2 separate regions of the Homo sapiens genome follow, and region 2 is linked to region 1. Evidence: promoter capture Hi-C in 16 types of primary human blood cells and fetal thymus (Javierre and others, 2016). All regions are on one chromosome and are shown on one strand. The core of a region is centred on a gene start or on the middle of the fragment in contact, and the rest is flanking DNA. Distances in the headings are between cores, read along the strand shown.

Region 1 (5,714 bases), core at 117-2,616:
GCGACAATTTGGCGGGCCGGGATGGAGACGAGATAGTGGAAAACCGCCTCGCTCCTAAAACCTCCGCGGTGAAGTGATGAAGTGGGAACAGAGTTGGCCCCGCCGTTCCTGGCGCGGCTGGGGTCCCGAACTCCCCTCGATCTGGGAAACGCTGGCCGCGGAAGCGTGGGCCAGGTCAGCCGCGGGAGTTCGCTCTGGCCCCCCACCTCTCCCCTTTCACACCCAAGCGCAAATGTGGAAAGCCGAGCGCTCCAGAAAAGCCACGCAAAACGGGAGGCCGGTGCACCCCAGTGGGGCTGCCGCGCGCCCGCCACCCCGGCCACTGGGGGCTCGCACCCTCGGGCTTGCCGCGGTTATTTTTAGGAAGTCGGAAATCAAAGATGGCTGGAGGTCAGGCCCCGAAAGGTTAGGGCGAAGATCGGCAGGCGGCGCAGCCCGGGCAGAAAAGGCGAAATCCAGAAAAGAAAAAAATTTTAAAGGGAAACATTGAGCCCTCCTCCCCCACCTCTCTGGGCCCTCCAATCCCCTGCGCAGCGCGGGTGGCCCGCACCCCAGCTCCTGAGGGTGGGGAGAGGTCGCGCCCCCTCCCCCCACTTGGCCCGGGAGGGGCGCGTGCAACAGATCGTCCTCCTCCGGGGGGTCTTCCAGGGGTGCGCCCCTCCTCCAGCCTCCAAGAAAAGCCCCAAGGGGCTGGTGGAGAGGGTGGGGATCCCCCGGGGTTCTTTCTTTTGAGAGCGACGCGAGGGAGGGGGACCTAAGTTACAAGGGGGGGGGGTAACACCAGTGAGGGGAGTGGAACCAATTAAGTGAGGGGCAGAGGACAAGGAGAAGGGAACCTTTCGGGAGCGAGAACAGAGGAGCGAGTGGGGGTCAATTTTACAATTAGGGGAGAAAGCTGGGGGTGAAACTTACACAAGAGGGGAGAAGAGGAAAAAAGTGTGAAATGTGCAAAAGGCGGGGTGGTGGGGAGAGGAGGAGACCTCTCCTCCCGGGCACTGAGCCCCCAAATCTCGGCTCCTGAATTTGCGCTGGACGCCGCCCGCTCCCCGAAGCCTGCGCCCTCGAGGATCCCGCGTACGTCCGGGAAGCTCCCCTCCCCGGGCGGGCGCCCCAGCCCCACTCACCCAGCTCCCCCGCCGCGGGCGCCGCTGGGGCCGCATCTGCAAACTCCGGGGTCTGCTGCTGCGGCTGCTGCTCGCCCTGGTCCTCCTCCGAGTTGATGTGCTGGGGTTTCGCCTGCTTGCGCCTCGACATGGTGCGAGCATCGGGGCGCCGGGAGAGCCGCAGTTATTTGCCCTCTCCGCCACAAATTCCTGGAGTTGGGAAATTTACCCCCCTTCGGCCGGAACGCGCATGTCCCAGTAATTATTATTATCAATAATGCATTGCGATTTATCATGAGCCCTGACAGCTGATTGGCCTGGGTCCAAGACCTCAGAGATCATTTAAATAAGCCCTCATTGATCAGGGAGGGGTGAGGCATTCTGGGCTTTGTAGTCCGGGCCTACTTGTGACAAAGGCGTGTTCATCAGGGGAGCGCAGCTAATTAGCATCCGGGCTCAGATTGGCTGGGGCGGGGACGAAATCAGAGGGGGACCCATCCTTGCTCCAGCTATCTCAGTCCTTGGAGAGGAAAAGAAAATGGGGAGAAATGCGTACTCATTAAAAAGTAGGAGCTTACGTAGAAGTTTTGGAACGGCTTTATTTGGTAGTTACTTGCTCCAAAGATTACTTGGTAAGGTTGATGTCCACCAGCCGAGAAGGGAGATCTCTTCACAGTGGAATATTTTGGCTCAGTTTTCACATCTACACGCACACACATTCCCCCAAACCTGAGATGTGACCCGTGTCCCCTCCCATCTTTTTGATTAAAAATGTTTAAGTTGAGTCTCGAGATAACTGAAGAATGATGAATGGTGGTGTTTTCAGCCCTCCCACCCATCTCAACTCTTAAAGTGAGCTCGGAACTTCCAAAATTTCAGATACCCCACCACCACCATGACTTACCTCCTTTAAAAGCTGATTAATAGCCTCCAGGATTCCTGTTCACAAAGACTGGTTTGTGGTTACAATGCAAACCTTGATTTTTTTTTAACTTCAAAATGACTGGCTACTAAATATAGAAATGGCAAATGATAAGCAAGCATAGTCAGAGATAATATCAAAACAGCAAGCAATTGCATTTTTTTCCCCAGGAGCCATAAATGCCTGATAACATCATATTTTATTACTGAGACAATGCTCTTGCATCTCCCATGGAATGGCAATGGGGCACTGTCACAGTATCTGGTTGTTACTAATCACTATTGGAATTTTTTTGTGCAATACACACATTATTACAGAAAAGGTGTATCGTTCAAAGTGATTGTATCATTGACACATGATGCCTGGAATTTTTTAAAGTGGGGCTTGTGTGTGTGTATATGATATATTACATGTATACACATTTATACCGTAAATTCATGTATACTTAATTTGGCTAACTGCTTTACACAATGTACATGCTCAATAAATGTTAAATGAATGATGAAATCATCAACCTGCTAAGTCTTTGATTGGTCTTTCCATAACTGCTCTGGGCATGCGTCTTTGTTTGGCATTTACTTCATTGTAAGGGACTGTGCAGATATAAACCCTCCCTCCACATTTGTGCATTGCATTCTCTTGATTAGTTATTCATCACGTTCCCAGCTTGTAAACTCATCAGGAATACAAGCAAAATGGAATGCTGGGCTCATCAATGTGTTCACCTGGGTATTTGGACAACCCAAGGCAGAAAATAAATCAGCTTGATCATCTTTTTTATATTCGTGGCCATCAGTAAAAACTTGTTGAAGGAAGATTAACCTTCAATTTTTGAGTCTCTGAAAAAGTCTTGCCTTATTTTATGTATAATATTTAAAGCAAGTAAGACAGAATTATAGCCAACAGCCAGATTGAAAAGGTAAGAATTTGGTTTAATAATACATAGAAGCAGTTTAGAATTCTGATACTGAGTAAAAAGGCCAATTAGCACCTGCCTTGCTGACTAATCTACTAATATTCTCAACACCTTTTCTGTGTAAGATAGTGTGGCAGGAGATCTAACTTACAAATCTAAACGAATGTGCAGTGGGTTTATGGCTCAAAAAATACTATTGGGTTAAGGAAAATTTCATTTATATAGTTGTTTATATTTATTTTAGTAGATGATAGTTGTAACATGTTAGCCTTACTACGAGACAAAATTGTGCCGCTTGACTCTCCAAGTGATAGTAATAATAATAATTGATTGAGCCCCTTGTACATGCCACAGACTGCATTAAATGAATGCACACCGCCTTGTTTTATCTTCCCATGGAGGTTGGCCCTATTGTCCTCTCCATTTTGAAACTGAGGCTCAAAGACATGAAGTGACTTAATTAGAAACTGGCTGAGCTGGTGGTCAGTTTCTAAGCCGGTGGTCAGTTTCTAAGTCTGACTCCAAAATTCTATCACATCCTAATACCTGTCTTCCAACTATAGCTGAATATAGAGAAGATAGCTAAAGAAGAAAAATCGGAGTACAGTAAACTAAATTTAAAGTGTCCTAGAAAAATCTTGGGTCTTCAGAAATCACTCCAACAGATGAAGTCAAGAAGTTTCCCTCAAATGGAAACCTTCCACAAATGTCATATCAAGAAAAGCAGGACACAGTACATGTTTTGAATCTACCCCCAGTTTAACAGCTGCAGCCAGGAGCCAGTTGGTGGAAAATAAAGTAAGTCCTAGAGCAAAGCAGGGGATGAACGGAGGGCATAGCAACAGGCAAGTCCGTAATCAAAAGTTGTTTCAGGCTGAGCACAGTGTCTCACGCCTGTAATCCCAGCACTCTGGGAGGCCAAGACTGGCGGGTCACCAGAGGTCAGGAGTTCGAGACTAGCCTGGCCAACACGGTAAAACTCCATCTCTACTAAAAATACAAAAATTAGCTGGTTGTGGTGGCGCATGCCTGTAATCCCAGCTACTCAGGAGCCTGACGGAGGAGAATCACTTGAATCCAGGAGGCGGTGGTTGCAGTGAGCCAAGATCTAGCTACTGCACTCCAACCTGGGCGACAGAGTGAGACTCTGTCTCATGAAAAAACAACAACAAAAAAGTTATTTATTAAACCAAAGGACCTGGTTGGGACCCAAGCTTGAAAAGAAAATGTTCAGAGTAAAGGATGATATTAAACTTTTTCATGTTAACGTCCTTTGTTAGGTGACTGGGTTTATATAATCCAGTCATTGTCAATGTTTATGTAATCCAGTCATGTTCAATGTTTGTGCCAGGCAGGAATATTCAAAAAATACACTTCTTGGTATATTTTTCAGCAGTCTTATTGTTTATAAGGAGATTTGGGATGCATAATCCCATTTTATCCTCACTAATATCCTTTTTTAATTCCTTTTTTTTTTTTTTTTTTTTTTTGAGACAGACCACTCTTGTCACCCAGGCTGGAATGCAGTGGCACGATCTCTGCTCATTGCAACCTCTGCCTGGGTTCAAGCGATTCTCCTGCCTCAGCCTCCTGAGTACCTGGGACTATAAGCACATGCCACCACACTCGGCTAATTTTTGTATTTTTAGTAGAGATGGGGTTTCACCATGTTCACCAGTTGTCTCCAACTCCTGACCTCAAGTGAGGCCCACCTCAGCCTCCCAAAGTGCTGGGATTACAGACGTGAGCCACCGTGTCCGGCTTATTTCTACTTCATTTATGGAAAAACAGAAGCTCATTGCTCCCATCAGCTCCTAGCGAGTACTAACGAATGCATGCCAAATTATGGATTCAGTAACTTTGCACAGGTCTCAGTGGAAGGCAGATCTTTCCCTGAAAACCCCACCTCTGCTCTTTTCTACAAGGAATCGTCTTCCTTTCCACTGCTTGCCTCTCTTCACCTGGCCCACTCCTAAAAAGCCTATAATCTCTTCAAATTTCCCTTCCTTAAACCAGCCTTCCCTCTTCCAAACTAGGTCTCATTTATTAGTTCTCTCAGGCTTCAAGAAACCATATCTTTCTTTTTATAGCGCACTTCAAAATATATAATGACAGACTTTCTCATGTATCTGTTTATTGCTTATTTCTCACACTGCAGGCTCCGTGAGGGTAGACACCGTCATCACGGTGTCCTTAGCACTTAGCCACAGTAATGGAACACAGAAGTCACAACAAATAAATAGCGATGGACTCAATCCATGCTGAGTAACTTTAGAGGCCTGAATATGAAATGAAGTGTTAAAGGCAATATAGTAGGTGGGAATGTAAAATGCTGCAGCCACTCTAGATGGCAGTTCCTCAACAAATGTAAAAAAGGATTACCATATGATCCAGCAATTCCACATGTGGGTATATATCCAAAAGAATTGAAAGCAGGGTCTCGAAGCAGTATTTATATACCCATGTTCACAGCAGAATTATTCACAATAGCCAAAAAGTGGAAACAACTCAAGTGTCCATGGACAGATGAATGAATAAAGTAAATGCAGTCTATCCATACAATGGAATATTACTCAGCCTTAAAAAGGAAGGAAATTCTGACACATGGTACCACATGGATGAATCTTTGTTTTCTTTTGGGTTTTTTTGTTGTTGTTTTTTGAGACAGAGTCTCGCTCTGTCACCCAGGAGTGCAGTGGTGCGATCTTGGCTCACTGCAAGCTCTGCCTCCCGGGTTCACGCCATTCTCCTGCCTCAGCCTCCCGAGTAGCTG
Region 2 (5,084 bases), core at 756-3,255, 290 kb after region 1:
TAGAGTTTATCTTCTAGTAACTCCCACTAGCATGGTGGCTGGGAGTAAAATCTTGAGTCCTTGCACATCATTCTATTTTGCTCTCATACTTGAGATAGTTTGGCTGGGTATAGAATTCTAAGTTCAAAATCATTTCCCAACTCTTGAGGGCACTGTTCCATTGTCTCCTAGAAGCCAATACTACCCAGACATATTTCTAGATATAGATGTCCCCTGTCCACTCCCTTCCATCCTGATTGGAATCCTGTGAGCACTTTTACTCTCCTGGCCCCTTAGAATTGTGGACTTCATTTCTCATTTGATTTTCTATTTTCACTCTATTTTCTTCTCACTTCCATTTTCTTTTCTTCCTAGACCTGGTCAGAAACCAGACTTCAGGACTGGCTCTTATTCTCAGTTCACTCACCCAATTTTTTTCCCGTAATCTCTGGGACATTAATTTTATAGCTAGCAATCCTAGTTTTATTTCATACTTCTTTGTTCTCATTATCTCTTCATAGGTCTCTATTTGGATGCAACATTTCTGCCAGTGGGTAGACACCAATTAGAATGTGAAAATTACCCAAGTACTCTTACTTCCAGGATTAGTTATTGACTTGGCTCATTTTATTCCATTCATTTCCTATAGATGACTCATGATCCTTGGTGGACTATATTTGGGAAAGTAGACTGGTTTAATGATTAGACATGGATGCCAGAGGTTTCACCTGCTACTGGGTTGGTTGGGCAGTTTTGCCAGGCCTTGGCTAGTCCCCCAAGCTTTGTGGCCCTGGCTGTCTACATGCTTGTTCCAAGCCCAGAGCCCTCAGGGCCCTTGGATATTGGCTGGAAACTTTGGCTTCCAACTGTACAGCTGCCTCCCATTTGTCTGCTGGGACACAGCTTTCTATACTCAGTTTTAAACATCACTATGTTCCTGTCTGCTCACCATTTTCCAGGAATTCATTGAAAATTTTCAACTTATGAGCATCTTTATGAATATCTCAAACCCCATTTTTCCATGCCACGATGAGTTGGTCCTATCATTTCAGTAGGGTCCCATAAAGGAAGTTCCTAAGATTAAAAGTTTGTGATTTTTAATTATACTTAATGGATCCTGCTACATTCCAAATTTAGCCATGCAATCAGTGTATACATTTACTGAAACATCTAGTTTATAGGTCTGACTTGAGATACATCATTGGCTTCTTGGCAGTTATAGTGGGTATCTACTCCCAGCTGGATTCTATATAGTCAAGATATAAAACCCAGCTGTCAGTCATATTTTACCAAAAGTTGTTGTTCCGGCAACAGAAAAATGACAAATCTCACAATTATCACAGAAGTTCCAAATTCTTGTACTTCTACCACACCAAGTCATTTAAGTTGCTTGTGTTGTTAAGTAAATGAAGGTTAAGAAATTAGAGAAAAAGTAAGGGATTGAGGTTTCCTGGTCAGGGACTCACCCGTGTGAGATCGCAGGTGGACGGTGAGCTGGCTGGAGTTGCGGCTGGCATAGGGGCAGAGCTGGCATTTGTACGGCCGCTCATCAGAGTGGATCCGCAGGTGCTTCTTGAGGCTACTGCTGTCCACGGCAGCGTAGTCACACAGGTGACACTTGTGTGGCTTCACACTGGTGTGGCACCGCATGTGCATGGTCAGGTTGTCCTTCCGGCTGAAGCACTTGTCACAGAACTCACACTTGTGCGGTTTGTCTCCTTCAAACACATAAGGAGTCAAAGTTAAAGGTTTTTTGGTCAAGATGGCTACAAAGATTTGACCAAGATGATAGCCTGGGCATATGGGTGTGCCGCCTCCTCCTGTCCAAATACTGAGAGAGAAAGATACTGAAGTCTACATCAGCATATTGGGAAACAAGAATGTGTATCATTCATTGATAGTTCAGAAATCCTAAGGGAAAGATGACATAAAAATCTGATTGATGGAGAAAATTACAGGCCAAACCCTGTTTGGGAAAAATGGCAGTGGTTATAGAAGTACTCAGGATAAGAAGTGGCAGCTGTAGGGATCTTGGGCAGCTTCATGAACCACATGGAGAATGGTCAGGTGGACCCCTTCCTCTCACTTCTTCCAAACAGCAAGCAGCACGGCATCTCCCCCTAGGCTGTTGGTCAAAGGGTGCTGAGGTCAGAAAAAGAATACAAGGGCCTGGTAAGTTAGAGATGCCAGGGACAGCAGAAGACCACATACCCAGAACACTTCCATCCAGCCATGTTTCATCACTACCCCCTAGCCCAACCCTTCCAGGCTGATCATATCCAAATAAAATTAGTTTACCCAATAAACAAATGCTTGGGGAAAGCCAGAACCAGAAAGACACGCCCAAGTCAAGAACTTAGTTACTAAAGCAAAGGGAGGAAATGAAATTAGAGAAATGAAAACTATGGAAATCAAAATAAAAGTTCTAATAAGTTGACCAGCAAAAAGGGTGTCGAATGACAGCTATTGGTGGATGTAGGTCATCATACATTTGTCCACAACCGCAGAATGTACAACATCAAGAGTGAACCTTGGCCAGGTGCGGTGGCTCACACCTGTAATTCCAGTGCTTTGGGGGGCTGAGGTGGGTGGATCGCTTGACCCCAGGAGTTTGAGACCAGACTGGGCAACATGGCAAAACCCTGTCTTTACACAAAAAATACAAAATATTAGCTGGATGTGGTGGTGCATGCCTGTAGTTCCAGCTACTTGGGAGGCAGAGGTGGGAAGATCACCTGAGCCCAGGAGGTTGAGGTTGTGAGCACAGATCGTGCCACTGCACTCTAGCCTGGGTGACAGAGCAAGACACTGTCTCAAAAAAAAAAAAAAAAAAATGAACCTTACTGTAAACTATGGTCTTTGGTTGAGAATGTTGTGTCAGTGCAGGTTCATCTATGGTAAAAATGCACTATTCAAATGTAATGTTGGTAATGGGGAAGGCTGTGCATGCGCAGGAGCAGGGAGCATGTGGGAAATATCTGTATCTTCTTGTCTTTAGGTTCACTTTTGCTGTGAACCTAAAACTGCTCTTATAAAAACAAAACAAAAAGAAAAAGCCACCTATTAAGAAAAATCTTAGAAATGGAAGATACAGCTAAAGAATCTCCCAAAAGGACAAGGGGGAAAAGACGCCAAAAGGTAAGACACGAAAGCTCGTTCTAGATGGTCCAGGATAGAACTGAGAAGAATTATTTCCCAACACTAAAGACAGCCATGCATCTTATTTAGAAGCAGGGTGGTCCAATTTCAGAACCCTAAGAAGGGTGAGATCTGGAAGCTTCCAGAAAGAAAACCACCAGCAAAATGCTCACATCAGCATAAAGCTCCTCAGAACAGTGGATGCTAGCAAGACAGGAACAGGATCTTCAACTTTCTAGAGAAACTGTTTTAATAGAATCTTATACTTGAATTAGCATTCAGTGAGAGGAGAAGATAGTTGATATATGACTTGGTATCACACTTAAACACTGTACACCAGAAAAAAAAATAAGGGTGATGGTGAAGGTAAGATGGCAATATGAGAAAATACTACAATGGAAAAAGTATAGCTTTCAGACAAGAGAAAAACAACCATCAAAAGACTTGGTTGGGGCGACTGGGCATGGTGGCTCACACCTGTAATCCCAGCACTTTGGGGGGCCAAGGTGGGCAGATCATGAAGTCAGGAGTTCGAGACCAGCCTGGCCAACATGGTGAAATCCTGTCTCTACTAAAAATACAAAAATTAGCTGGGCTTGGTGATGCACACCTGTAATCCCAACTACTGGGGAGGCTGAGGCAGGAGAATGGCTTGAACCCAGGAGGAGGAGGTTGCAGTGAGCCGAGATCGTGCCACTGCACTCCAACCTGGGTGACAGAGCAAGATTTTTTTTTTTTTTTTTTTGAGACAGACTTGGTTGGGCACAATGGCTCACATCTGTAATCCCAACACTTTTGAGAGGATCACTTAAGTCCAGAAGTTCTAGACCAGCCTGGGCAACACAGTGAGACCCTGACTCTACCAAAAAAAAAAAAAAAAAAAAAAAAAGGATTTGCTACGTGTGGTGGTATACCCTTGTAGTCCCAGCTACTTGGGAGGCTCAGGTGGGAGGATCACATGAGCCCAGAAGGTGAGCTCTGATCATACCACTGCACTCTAGCCTAGGTGGCAGAACAAGAACTTGTCTCTATGAAACGAAAAAACCAAACAGCACAAAATAAAAATCACATCAAATATCAGATAACTAGATGTCAAAGTAAATATTATAAACAAAAACGTATTACATTTCCCTCTTAAAGATTTAAATTATAGGTCAGGTGCTGTGGCTCACGCCAGTAATCCCAGCACACTGGGAGGCCAAGGCAGGAGGATTGCTTGAGGCCGGAAGGTTGAGACCAGCCTGGGCAACACAGGGAGAGCTCATCTCTACTTTAATAAAAGTTAAAAATATATTTAAGTTAAATTAAGAAAAAAAGCCACTAAATGCTCTGAAGATACCTAAATCAAAGTGATAGGAACACAATAGAAATTCTAGAAAAATGCTTAAAAAAAGTAGGAATATCAATTTTAGCATCAGGCAAAATAGAAATCATGGTGAAATCCATTAAAAATTTCATATGGATGAGAGAGTTCAGTATGTAGATAAAAGTCAAACTTTTATGAGTGTAACATGGCTTCACAAATGGTTTTTCAAAAATGTCATCTTGGAAGTTTTAGAATGTCTTTTAGGACAGTTTTTGTCAAAATTAGATTACAAACTCCAGAAACAGATAAGTTTCCTATTTCAAAACCTATGGCCGTGGCTGGGCGCGGTGGCTCACGTCTGTAATCCCAGCACTTTGGGAAGCCAAGGCAGGCAGATCACCTGAGCTTGGGAGTTCGAGACCAACCTGACCAACATGGAGAAACCCCGTCTCTACTAAAAATACAAAAAAATTAGCTAGACGTGGTGGCACATGCCTGTAATCCCAGCTACTTGGGAAGCTGAGGCAGGAGAATCGCTTGAACCCAGGAGGTGGAGGTTGCGGTGAGCCAAGATTGCACCATTGCATTCCAGCCTGGGCAACAAGAGCGAAACTCCGTCTCAAAACAAAACCAAACAAAAAACCTATAGTCTATAATGGCT

Evidence for each region. Contacts are between HindIII fragments. The CHiCAGO score rates a contact against its expected background, and 5 or more counts as called.
Region 2: a fragment that was not itself captured here is called in contact with the fragment with the promoter of SALL4 in region 1 in 1 of 17 cell types (erythroblasts); the score reaches 6.0 in erythroblasts.

The regions. Positions count from the first base shown.
Region 1 is chr20:51,801,155-51,806,868 of GRCh38, forward strand. It overlaps SALL4 (spalt like transcription factor 4), which reads right to left and starts at 1,367. Exons shown (of 4, transcript NM_020436.5): 1 at 1,125-1,367. The coding sequence starts at 1,254. RefSeq lists enhancers at 1-428, 1,072-1,713. The HindIII fragment of the contact is 4,794 bases long and covers 1-4,153 here.
Region 2 is chr20:52,086,947-52,092,030 of GRCh38, forward strand. The region is part of intron 2 of LOC105372664 (a long non-coding RNA gene); the gene reads left to right. It also overlaps a transcript of ZFP64 not described here. Among named protein-coding and RNA genes, the nearest start is that of ZFP64, 100 kb to the right of the region's middle. The HindIII fragment of the contact is 2,497 bases long and covers 758-3,254 here.